3 separate regions of the Homo sapiens genome follow, and regions 1 and 3 are each linked to region 2. Evidence: promoter capture Hi-C in 16 types of primary human blood cells and fetal thymus (Javierre and others, 2016). All regions are on one chromosome and are shown on one strand. Each heading gives the region's core, a stretch centred on a gene start or on the middle of the fragment in contact. The rest is flanking DNA. Distances are from core to core; before and after follow the strand shown.

Region 1 (3,680 bases), core at 70-2,569, about 30 Mb after region 2:
GGGGCCCAGGAGCCTGTGTATCCCTTCTGTAATCAATTACAGTGGTTGCAGACATCATGAGTACTCCTTTGGCACAGAGCTCGGTCTTTTACTTCCTGCCCCTAATTGACCCCTGACCTGGACATATCTGTCTTTAGGCCTGGAGTGGTGTGTCTAAGGGACTGGCTGAGAGTCTGCAGCCAGACTACAGTGAACGACTCTGCCTCGTCAGTGAGATTCCCCCAAAAGGAGGGGCCCTTGGGGAGGGGCCTGGGGCCTCCCCATGCAACCAGCATAGCCCCTACTGGGCCCCCCCATGTTACACCCTAAAGCCTGAAACCTGAACCCCAATCCTCTGACAGAAGAACCCCAGGGTCCTGTAGCCCTAAGTGGTACTAACTTTCCTTCATTCAACCCACCTGCGTCTCATACTCACCTCACCCCACTGTGGCTGATTTGGAATTTTGTGCCCCCATGTAAGCACCCCTTCATTTGGCATTCCCCACTTGAGAATTACCCTTTTGCCCCGAACATGTTTTTCTTCTCCCTCAGTCTGGCCCTTCCTTTTCGCAGGATTCTTCCTCCCTCCCTCTTTCCCTCCCTTCCTCTTTCCATCTACCCTCCGATTGTTCCTGAACCGATGAGAAATAAAGTTTCTGTTGATAATCATCAAAAATGTCTGTCATGGGGGTGGGGAGCAGGGGAAGCCTGGGATGCAATGAGGGTGGGAGGGGAAGAAAAAGGAGTAGTACATTCATGCTGTGGAGGCAGGAGTATTACCAATTTGCTAGAAAGAGTACTGTTCTGGAAACTGACTTTTTTCCAGGTGCCCTGCACTCATTCCAGGGTTTAGTTTAGAGTTAGACTTACAATGGGCTGGGCGTGGTGGCTCACGCCTGTAATCCCAGCACTTTGGGAGGCCAAAGCGGGTGGATCACGAGGTCAGGAGATCGAGACCAGCCTGGCCAACATGGTGAAACCCCGTCTCTACTAAAAATACAAAAATTAGCCAGGCGTGATGGTGTGCTCCTGTAATTCCAGCTACTTGGGAGGCTGAGGCAGGAGAATCGCTTGAACCCAGGAGGTAGAGGATGCAGTGAGCCAAGATTGTGCCACTGCACTCCAGCCTGGGCGACAGAGGGAGACTCCATCTAAAAAAATAAAAAAAATAAAAAAAGTTAGACTTACCATGTTGTCCCCCCTTTCCAACTAATCTTTAACATACCCCACCCAAGTTTTTCTCTCCTTACCCTTACTCCACTTTTTGGCCACACCTGCCACTTCTGACCTCATAATCCCTTAACTGCAGTCTCAGGCCCCACCCCTGGGGATACTGGTTATCCACAACTATCAACAGCTCTCTCCTGCCTGTCCAGCCTGGGCATCCTCAGCCTATGAAATCCATCTGCCTCTCTAGTCCACCAACCCTATAGGCCTATTTGCCCCACACAAGGCCTCTAGAACACCCTCCTTCTGCATGACTCATCAGGGCACTTTGTGAAGAGTGAGGCGATCTTGAGGGCATGTTCATCTTCATCAAACATGGAGGTGAGGGGCAGCACAGAACTAGAGTCTGTGGATGGGGGTGGAGGGATCTGAGGGCAGTGGAGATCACAGAAATGGGCCCATGTGTCCCATCCTATCTCTTCTCAGATAATCAGCAGTTTCTGGTCAATACCAACTGTGCTGTCGTCGTGTTGCTGTATTACATCCGCAGTAAAGTAAAGTTGCCTAAAACAAGTGAGGAGCTTAGGGAGGGGACTAATGGCCAAAGGTCAGAAGGAGTTGGGTCATCTCTAACCCCCAAGCCCTCCTCCTGGCAAGAAGGGAGTTCCTCATATCCTTAGAGCTTCCTCCAACCCATTTTGTATAGGATCACTGGCCCCTTTTGCTCCCACTCTCTTTCCTTAGCTGCCCCAATTACCCTGTGATCTCCCTCCAGACACCATCGATTTGTGTGAACAAACGGGGAAAATGAAGATGCTTTTCCTGATGAAGCCCAATCATGCAGAGTATGCCAGCAAATACCTTACAGCTCGAAGCACCTACTACGTTTGTAAGGTGGAACGTGGGCCACCAGGTAGAGGCTCAGGAGTGTTCCCCAGAAATAGAATAAGGCCTTCAAGATAGATTATGAACCTTATCTTTAAAACAAGGCATCCAAGGCTGGGCATAGTGGCTCATGCTTGTAATCTCAGCACTTTGAGAGGCCAAGGCGGGAGAATCGATAGAGGGCAGGAGTTTGAGACCAGCCTGGGCAACATAACAAGAGCCTGCCTCCAAAACCAAAACCAAAACCAAAAACAACCAAAACCAAATTAAAACAAAAAACAGAACACCCTCAAACAACAGAACACCCTCAACCAGATCCAAATTGACCATCTCTAGTCAGCCTAAGGAAGGGTACTGCCTCTATAATAATAGGTTACCTCACACATACTCTCCCCTAGGTCCATACCTAAGGGGAAGAAATATCCACCAGCTCAAGGTAGGTTTTTTTTTTTTTTTTTTTGGGACAGAGTTTCGCTCTTGTTGTCCAGTTGTCCAGGCTGGAGTGCAATGGCGCGATCTCAGCTCACTGCAACCTCTGCCTCCCAGGTTCAAGCGATTCTCCTGTCTTAGCCTCCTGAGTAGCTGGGACTACAGGCACCCGCCACCAGGCCCAACTAATTTTTTAGTGCAGATGGGGTTTCACCATGTTGGCCAAGCTGGTCTTGAACTCCTGACCTCAGGTGATCCACCCACCTCAGCCTCCCAAAGTGCTGGGATTACAGGCGTGAGCCACTGTGCCCGGCAAGGTAGTCTTTATTTTTATTTATTTATTTATTTTATTTTTTGTGATGGAGTCTTGCTCTGTCACCCAGGCTGAAACAGTGGCATGATCTTGGCTCACTGCAACCTCTGCCTCCTGGGTTCAAGTGATTCTCCTGCCTCAGCCTCCGGAGTAGCTGGGATTACAGGCGCCCACCACCATGCCCAGCTAATTTTTTTTGTTTGTTTGTATTTTTGGTAGAGATGGGGTTTCACCAAATTGGCCAGGCTAGTCTCGAATTGGCCAGGCTAGTCTGGAACTCCTGACCTCAAGTGATCCGCCCACCTTGGCCTCCCAAAATGCTGGGATTACAGGCGTGAGCCACCGCATCTGGCGGGTAGTCTTTAGTGTTAGGTCCTGGAATCTTGGACTTCTGAAGGGTGGAGACTGGATGACAGGGGCTGGAGATAGCACATGGCTATGTTCACAGGAACCAGGCTGGAGAATGCTTACAGAGCTTTTGTGCCTCTCCTCAAGAATCCGGAGCCTTGGCTGCTTGGTAAGAAGTGAGATGGGGGAGGGAAGAACATGAAGGGTACAGTATATAGCTGTGTGATGGAGAATGTAGGGTGGGACTAGCGTGATATGGTAGGTCAGATGATAGGAGCCTAGGAAAAGGCGGGCAGGGTCCAGGTCCACTTTAGGAGGGACGTTTAGCTCACACCAGGTGGAATGTGCATGCGTTACTCCCCACTTCCCCCATTTCTTGGCCATCTTCTCCGTATATCTCCCTGTCACCATTCCATCATTTCCATCTTAGGCCAAGTGGGGCTCCAGCTGATGGTTTGAACAATGAATGGGAGCATCAGGAAGGGTAAGGTCTCTAGTTCTCAGAGGTGCAGGTGCCTTTTCCTTGTTCTTAGTTGCACTGCGCATACAATGTGATGCC
Region 2 (3,159 bases), core at 504-3,003:
AGTGAGCCGAGATCATGCCACTGCACTCCAGCCTGGGCGACAGGGCAAGACTCCGTCTCAAAAAAAAAAAAAACTGAAGAAAAGAGGAGGGAAGATGAATGCCTGTGGCCAACCCTCAGGCAGGTGAGTGGAACAGCTATTGGGGGTGACTAGCGAAAGGATAGACGTTGTCAATAAAGTAAGGCAATCATACAACACATGCTGTCCATCTGTCTTGTGCAAATGTGAGTATCAACCACTCTATCATCAGTCTACAAATACTTTAAATGTTTTTATTTAAAGTCCTGTTGATGGCTGGGAGAGGTGGCTCACTCCTGTAATCCCTGCATTTTGGGAGGCCAAGGCAGGAGTATCGCTTGAGCCCAGGAGTTTGAGACCAGCCTGGGCAACATAGTGAAACCCCATCTCTACAAAAAGTAGAAAAATTAGCCCAGCACAGTGATGTGTGCCTATAGTCCCAGGTACTAGGGTGACTGAGGTGAGAGGATCACTTGAGCCCAGGAGGTGGAGGCTGCAGTGAGCCATGATCACGCCACTGCACTCCAACCTGGGCTTCAGAGCAAGACCCTGTCTCAAAAAAAAAAAAAAAAAAAAAAGGTCCCAGGGCCTGTTGGGGCTTGGGGGTGAGGGGAGGGATCTTAGAGGATGGGTCAATAGGTGCAGCAAATCACCATGTCACACATATACCTATGTAACAAACTTGCACCTTCTGCACATATACCCCATTTTTTTTGTTTGCTTGTTTGTTTGTTTTTTAGACAAAATAAAGAAAAAAAAATAAGGTCCTGTTGACTTAAAACTTCGGATGAAATTGTAGTGGGACCTGTGATCTGTTTCTACATTAGGATACAGTGCCTTGGGGCAAGGAAATATGGCAGTGCCCGAGGTGTCAAGGTGGGCAGGCAGATCAGTCAGCAGGGGCTCCACCATCATGGTCTGCATTCAATACTGGCTGCATTTCCTAGGAGAATCCCTGGGGGAATCATTGCAGTTGGAGCATAATGTAGGGGGCCCCTGAGAAAACCTCCAGGCTTCAAGTGACATACCTAGTCTGCTTTACCGGTTTACAGGACTCAAGAGAAAGGTGGACATTGAGAGTTAATCCCTGAGGCCAAATCTTAAATGGAGAAAGTCAACATCCACAGAAAATGGGGAAGGGCACAAGTATTTCTGTGGGCTTATATTCCGACATTTTTATCTGTAGGGGAAAAATGCTTTCTTAGAAAATGACTCAGCACGGGGAAGTCTTGTCTCTACCTCTGTCTTGTTTTGTCCTTTGGGGTCCCTTCACTATCAAGTTCAACTGTGTGTCCCTGAGACTCCTCTGCCCCGGAGGACAGGAGACTCGAAAAACGCTCTTCCTGGCCAGTCTCTTTGCTCTGTGTCTGCCAGCCCCCAGCATCTCTCCTCTTTCCTGTAAGCCCCTCTCCCTGTGCTGACTGTCTTCATAGTACTTTAGGTATGTTGTCCCTTTACCTCTGGGAGGATAGCTTGATGACCTGTCTGCTCAGGCCAGCCCCATCTAGAGTCTCAGTGGCCCCAGTCATGTTGAGAAAGGTTCTTTCAAAGATAGACTCAAGATAGTAGTGTCAGAGGTCCCAAGCAAATGAAGGGCGGGGACAGTTGAGGGGGTGGAATAGGGACGGCAGCAGGGAACCAGATAGCATGCTGCTGAGAAGAAAAAAAGACATTGGTTTAGGTCAGGAAGCAAAAAAAGGGAACTGAGTGGCTGTGAAAGGGTGGGGTTTGCTCAGACTGTCCTTCCTCTCTGGACTGTAAGAATATGTCTCCAGGGCCAGTGTCTGCTGCGATCGAGTCCCACCTTCCAAGTCCTGGCATCTCAATGCATCTGGGAAGCTACCTGCATTAAGTCAGGACTGAGGTGGGTCTGGGGTATGGCAGGGGCTGGGCAGCAGCAGCAATGTACCTTGCTTGGGACCCCTAAAAACCAGAGAGACAGCATGGCTGGTGCCATTTATCAGCTAGTGGAGGAGGCTGACGGAGGGTGGGAGTGTCATCAGCACAAGGCCCTGGCAGTCCCTTCTGGTGATTAGAGAGGCCGAAAGGGTCCTTTCCGACAAGGGCTGAGGGTGGGCGGAACAGGAAGAGAAAAATGTGACATGAGGTGACCATCCGAACAGGTAGCAAATGTTAGAAAGGGGTACCTCTGGCAAACTTAGTGGAAAAGTAATATTGCAGGGAGCAGTCAGATAAAAACAAGCCCTTCTGTCAAATAGTGCTTGAAGACTCAATAGGGATACATGGGTCAATGAAGCCTTTAGAAAAAGAAATACTAAGAGGCAGATTCTCTGAGAACATGGTAAAAGCTCACGCTCCACGTTATGAAGTTGACCTTTGTGAGCTAGGGAAAGGCCTGGCTAGGCCAGGGTGTAGGCTACCTGCCTTGAGCTGTACCAGGCCAAATGTCGCCAGGGTCAGAGCTGGCTTATTAAAGGACTGTGTGGAAGCTGTGCCAACCTCGTGGTAACAATGGGTAAAAGACTGGGCCAGGAGAAAGCAGCCTCTGCCTCAGCCCAGACAGTGCGGCCAACCCTTGAGGTTGTGGCAAAGGTTTCTCCTCTTACCATTGCCCTCCATGTGCATGGCTTGCTTTTCTCTTGTCTTCATTATTTCTCCTTTCCTTTCCTCCTCTCCAACCTCCTCCTCTTCCCACTCATCCTCTTTTCTCTACCTATATCCCCTCTTCATTATACCCTCCTCTGTTCTGTTGATTACCAGACCCTGACATACAGTTAGCACTTAACAAATAATTGCCGAATTGCATTGACTTTTTCTTGCTCCTTTCTTCCCCCGCTCTTTTCCCTTTTCCTTTCCCTTTCCATTTCCTCCTCCCTGCCTGCCTAGCACCTTCCCCATAAGGTGGTTGTGAGCAGTAAATGTGCAAATACATGTAAAGCTTTTAAAACAGGGCCTGGCAATAGTAAGTGCTGGATCTCAGTATTTGCTATAATTTTTACTCTGCCTCAGACCTGCCAATGTCCCCCAGAGGGCCTACCTAGAGCAAATAATATGACATTTAGAATAAAAGTGATTGGTGACCCCAATCAAGACATCCTTGGATAAGTTGCCCAGACTCCAGCCTCTCTGGAGCCTCAGTTATTTGATAAAATAATGTCACTTTCCAAATAAGCCACAAAA
Region 3 (3,254 bases), core at 180-2,679, about 26 Mb after region 2:
TCATATAATGGAGTATCATTTAATCATAAAAAGGAAAGATCCCACACGGATGAACCTTGAAAACATGCTAAATGAAATGAGTCACAAAATGACCACATATTGTATGATAATGAAATGTCCAGAATAGACATTTTTTATATGTAATGTGCAGAATGGGCAAACCATTAGAAATAGAAAGTAGATTAATGATTGTCTAGGGCTTTGGGTGGGTTGGGTGAAAATGGGGAGTGACTGTTTAATGGGCATGAGGTTTCTTGCTGGGGTGATGACAAATGTTCTAAAACTGTGGTGATGAATGCACAGCTGTGAACATACTTAAAACCACTGAATTATACACTTTAAATTCTTGAACTGTATGGTCTGTGAATTATATCTCAATAAAGATGTTATTTAAAAACAACTATTAAAAATCTTCATATGAGTAAAATTTCCCAGTTAATTTATGAGGGTTTGTTAAAGCCCTGAACCCATCTACTGGTACGAGGGAGTCGAAGACCCAAGCGTAGTAACTTCTGCTCTATAGAAACAAGAATCATCATCTATTTTTCTTTGTTGTATATGTAAGATTTATTTTGGCTGCCCCTACCCTACCACAACTACAGCAAACCTATGCCTCCTATTTTTTAGGATCACTATTTTGTCTATTAGATAACATAACCACAGTAGTTTTCAATATTGATTCATTAAAAAGAGTAAAATAGTATAGTTTCATAAATATAATTTTAAGAGCTACAAAAAAACTCTAGTAATTGAGCATCTATTATTTGCAAGGCATGGCCGGCATTCAAAAATGTAAAAGATTTCTGCCTTCAAGATGTCATAGGCAGGATAAGATCTATACAAAAATAACAATATACGAAAAAGAAGGTGAATCTTGCATTAAAAAGACCAGGGAAGATAAGCCAGGAATAATGATTAAAGGGAAGCTTCTTGGCAGAGGTGGACAATTATTTAATGCTGTGTTTCACCCTGAAGAATAAGTATCCTGAACGTACATAAAGGAGACACAGGGAATTCCAGATGAGAGCAGAAACAGATATGTTTCAGAATTGTTCCTAGGAACTATGAAGAAGGGCCTTCATCCCAAGCTAAGGGGGCCAGGCATGGTGGCTCACACCTGTAATCCCAACATTTTAGGAGGCCGAGGCACGAGGATTGCTTGAGGCCAGGAGTTCAAGACCATCGTGGACAATATAGCAAGACCTCCATCTCTACAAAAAAATAAAAAATTAGCCGGGGGGCAGTGCCATGTCCCTGTAGTCCCAGCTACTCAGGAGGCTAAGGCAGGAGGATTACTTGAGCCCAGAAGTATGAGGGTACAGTAAGCTGTGATCTCACCACTGCACTCCAGCCTGGGTGACAGAGAAAGATCCTGTCTCAAAAATATCAATCAAGCTAAGGATCCTGGACTTTATTTGGTAGGCTCTGAGAAGCCAAAGAAGGTTGCTGAGTAGGGCAATTACTGAATCAAAGATGTATGTTATGAAGATTGATTGTACAGTAATGTATGGGTGCATGTGGAAGAGAGGAAAAACTGCAAGCAGAGAAACAGTATTATTACAATAGTGTAAGACAAGGTTTCTAGAGTCTGGTTTAGGGAGTGGCATCTGTCATTCAGTAGCCATTTTTAAAAGATCAAGGCATGTCCCCCCAACCCCTGCCACTAAAAAAGGGGTGTTTTGATATGCTGCTCATTTAAAGTGCTGCCAATAAAGAAAATAGCTGTAGTTCATCATGGTACATATTTCCCTGGAGAAAACCCATTTACAACGTAGGTTTAGAAATTTCAAAATTACATTTTAACATGAAGTTCTGGCTACATTGGTTTGTGGGATTAGGAAGGGCCAAAGGCTCCTTTAGGCTCCCTTTGATCCATTAACTATGTTCTGTGAGTTTACAGTGAAAAATGATAAGAGTTGGACGATAAGCTTTCATGTGATCAAGTAAACCTGAACTCCAAGACTAAAAGACCTTGTTTGCAGTAGCAAATACTAAAGGGTCAGGGCCTGAATAGAATTTCCTTGAAATTGCTTTATTTCTATTTATGAACCTGAGGTGATTGGTGGTAGTGCATAACCTTGGATAGTAACCATTTCTGGGTTATAGGTTTACCATGTGGACAAGCACTGCCCACATAGTATAGGGGAGTTTACCTGCCTGGAATGGCCAAGGAGTTGTCTTTCCTGGGAGAGACAAAGAGCCCAGAGGCTACCTAAAGTCTTCCTCCCCACCCAAAGTGATGTTAGACACCGGAACTTGGAAAGAGAAGGTTGGCGTTCGAGTTACACGACACACACACACACACACACACACACACACACACACACACACCAAATAAAAGGTCTTACCCCAATCTCCAAAGTTTGCCAAGGCCAAGAACACTGTCTCTTAGCCCTTTTACTTCCAATCCCCGCCCACAGCCTGCAAGACCCTCCACTTCCCTTTCCCCTTCCGCTCTTGGCTTACTTGTCACGGATGATGGTCTGTAGCTCCCGTATCTGATCATTCATAGGCAGCAGCTTAAGCTGCGCCCCGATCTGCCGGGAGAGTTCGCAGTCCTCTAGGAAGGAGTTGCCAGCTGGTGCGTCATAGCTGCTACTGTCACCACTACCACTGTTGCCCTCTGAGTTGAGGCTGGAGCCGCCGCAGGCCCCAGAGTCCAGCTCGGCCGGCAGGCTAGAATGGGCGTACCCCGTGAGGAGAATCACCTTGGCCCTGGAGGCTCTGTTTCCCCCTGCGTGGTCCAGGATCAGATCGCCAGGTCGCAGCTGCTCGGGACTTGGGGTTGAGGCAGAGTTTACTTGCTGGTTGTGACAGGGCATGGAGTCCGGACACTGTAACTCCGTGGCCATACACCGGGCCCCGGGCTATCCCCGCTGCTACTGAACACTAAAGATAAAGAGGAACGGGTAGAAAGGACAGATGCTCACGTGCTCTCTCGGTTGCTCCCGCCTCCTCAGAACATCTAACCCTGGCTGTCCTTTCACCCCTAGGCCGCTGTTGGTTTCCTTTAGCACACTTTGGCTCACTCCCGCCCACACCAGACGTACTGCCTGCCTAGACACCCTATTGGCTGCACTCCCCGCCACTCTGCGGCGCCACTGCTTGTTAACCCTTTGAGTCACCCTTGCTACGTGGGTTCCCACAGGTAGCTAAGCCCCCGCAGCGAGGCCAAGGATGCCAGCTTGAAGGATCTTCCGGGGGCCCCTGGGGCTTCTGCATTCAGAACTTTGGGTGATTAGTAGAGCCAGGAA

The links. Contacts are between HindIII fragments. The CHiCAGO score rates a contact against its expected background, and 5 or more counts as called.
Region 1: the fragment with the promoter of CXorf65 here is called in contact with the fragment with the promoter of BTK in region 2 in 1 of 17 cell types (total B cells); the score reaches 5.3 in total B cells.
Region 3: a contact is called between a fragment that was not itself captured here and the fragment with the promoter of BTK in region 2, in 1 of 17 cell types (monocytes). The highest score is 5.4, in monocytes.

What each region holds. Positions count from the first base shown.
Region 1 is chrX:71,104,379-71,108,058 of GRCh38, reverse strand. It overlaps CXorf65 (chromosome X open reading frame 65), which reads left to right and starts at 1,319. Exons shown (of 6, transcript NM_001025265.3): 1 at 1,319-1,527; 2 at 1,633-1,719; 3 at 1,922-2,059; 4 at 3,222-3,290; 5 at 3,655-3,680. The coding sequence starts at 1,503. IL2RG (interleukin 2 receptor subunit gamma) reads left to right here. Exons shown (of 8, transcript NM_000206.3): 8 at 138-655. The coding sequence ends at 323. The HindIII fragment of the contact is 6,290 bases long and covers 1-3,680 here.
Region 2 is chrX:101,384,785-101,387,943 of GRCh38, reverse strand. BTK (Bruton tyrosine kinase) reads left to right here and starts at 1,753. Exons shown (of 19, transcript NM_000061.3): 1 at 1,753-1,882. RefSeq lists an enhancer at 2,267-2,486. The HindIII fragment of the contact is 7,609 bases long and covers 1-2,919 here.
Region 3 is chrX:75,273,853-75,277,106 of GRCh38, reverse strand. UPRT (uracil phosphoribosyltransferase homolog) reads right to left here and starts at 3,022. Exons shown (of 7, transcript NM_145052.4): 1 at 2,467-3,022. The coding sequence starts at 2,852. It overlaps LOC124905200 (a long non-coding RNA gene), which reads left to right and starts at 3,071. Exons shown (of 4, transcript XR_007068269.1): 1 at 3,071-3,254. RefSeq lists enhancers at 2,642-2,851, 3,012-3,061, 3,082-3,131. The HindIII fragment of the contact is 1,002 bases long and covers 929-1,930 here.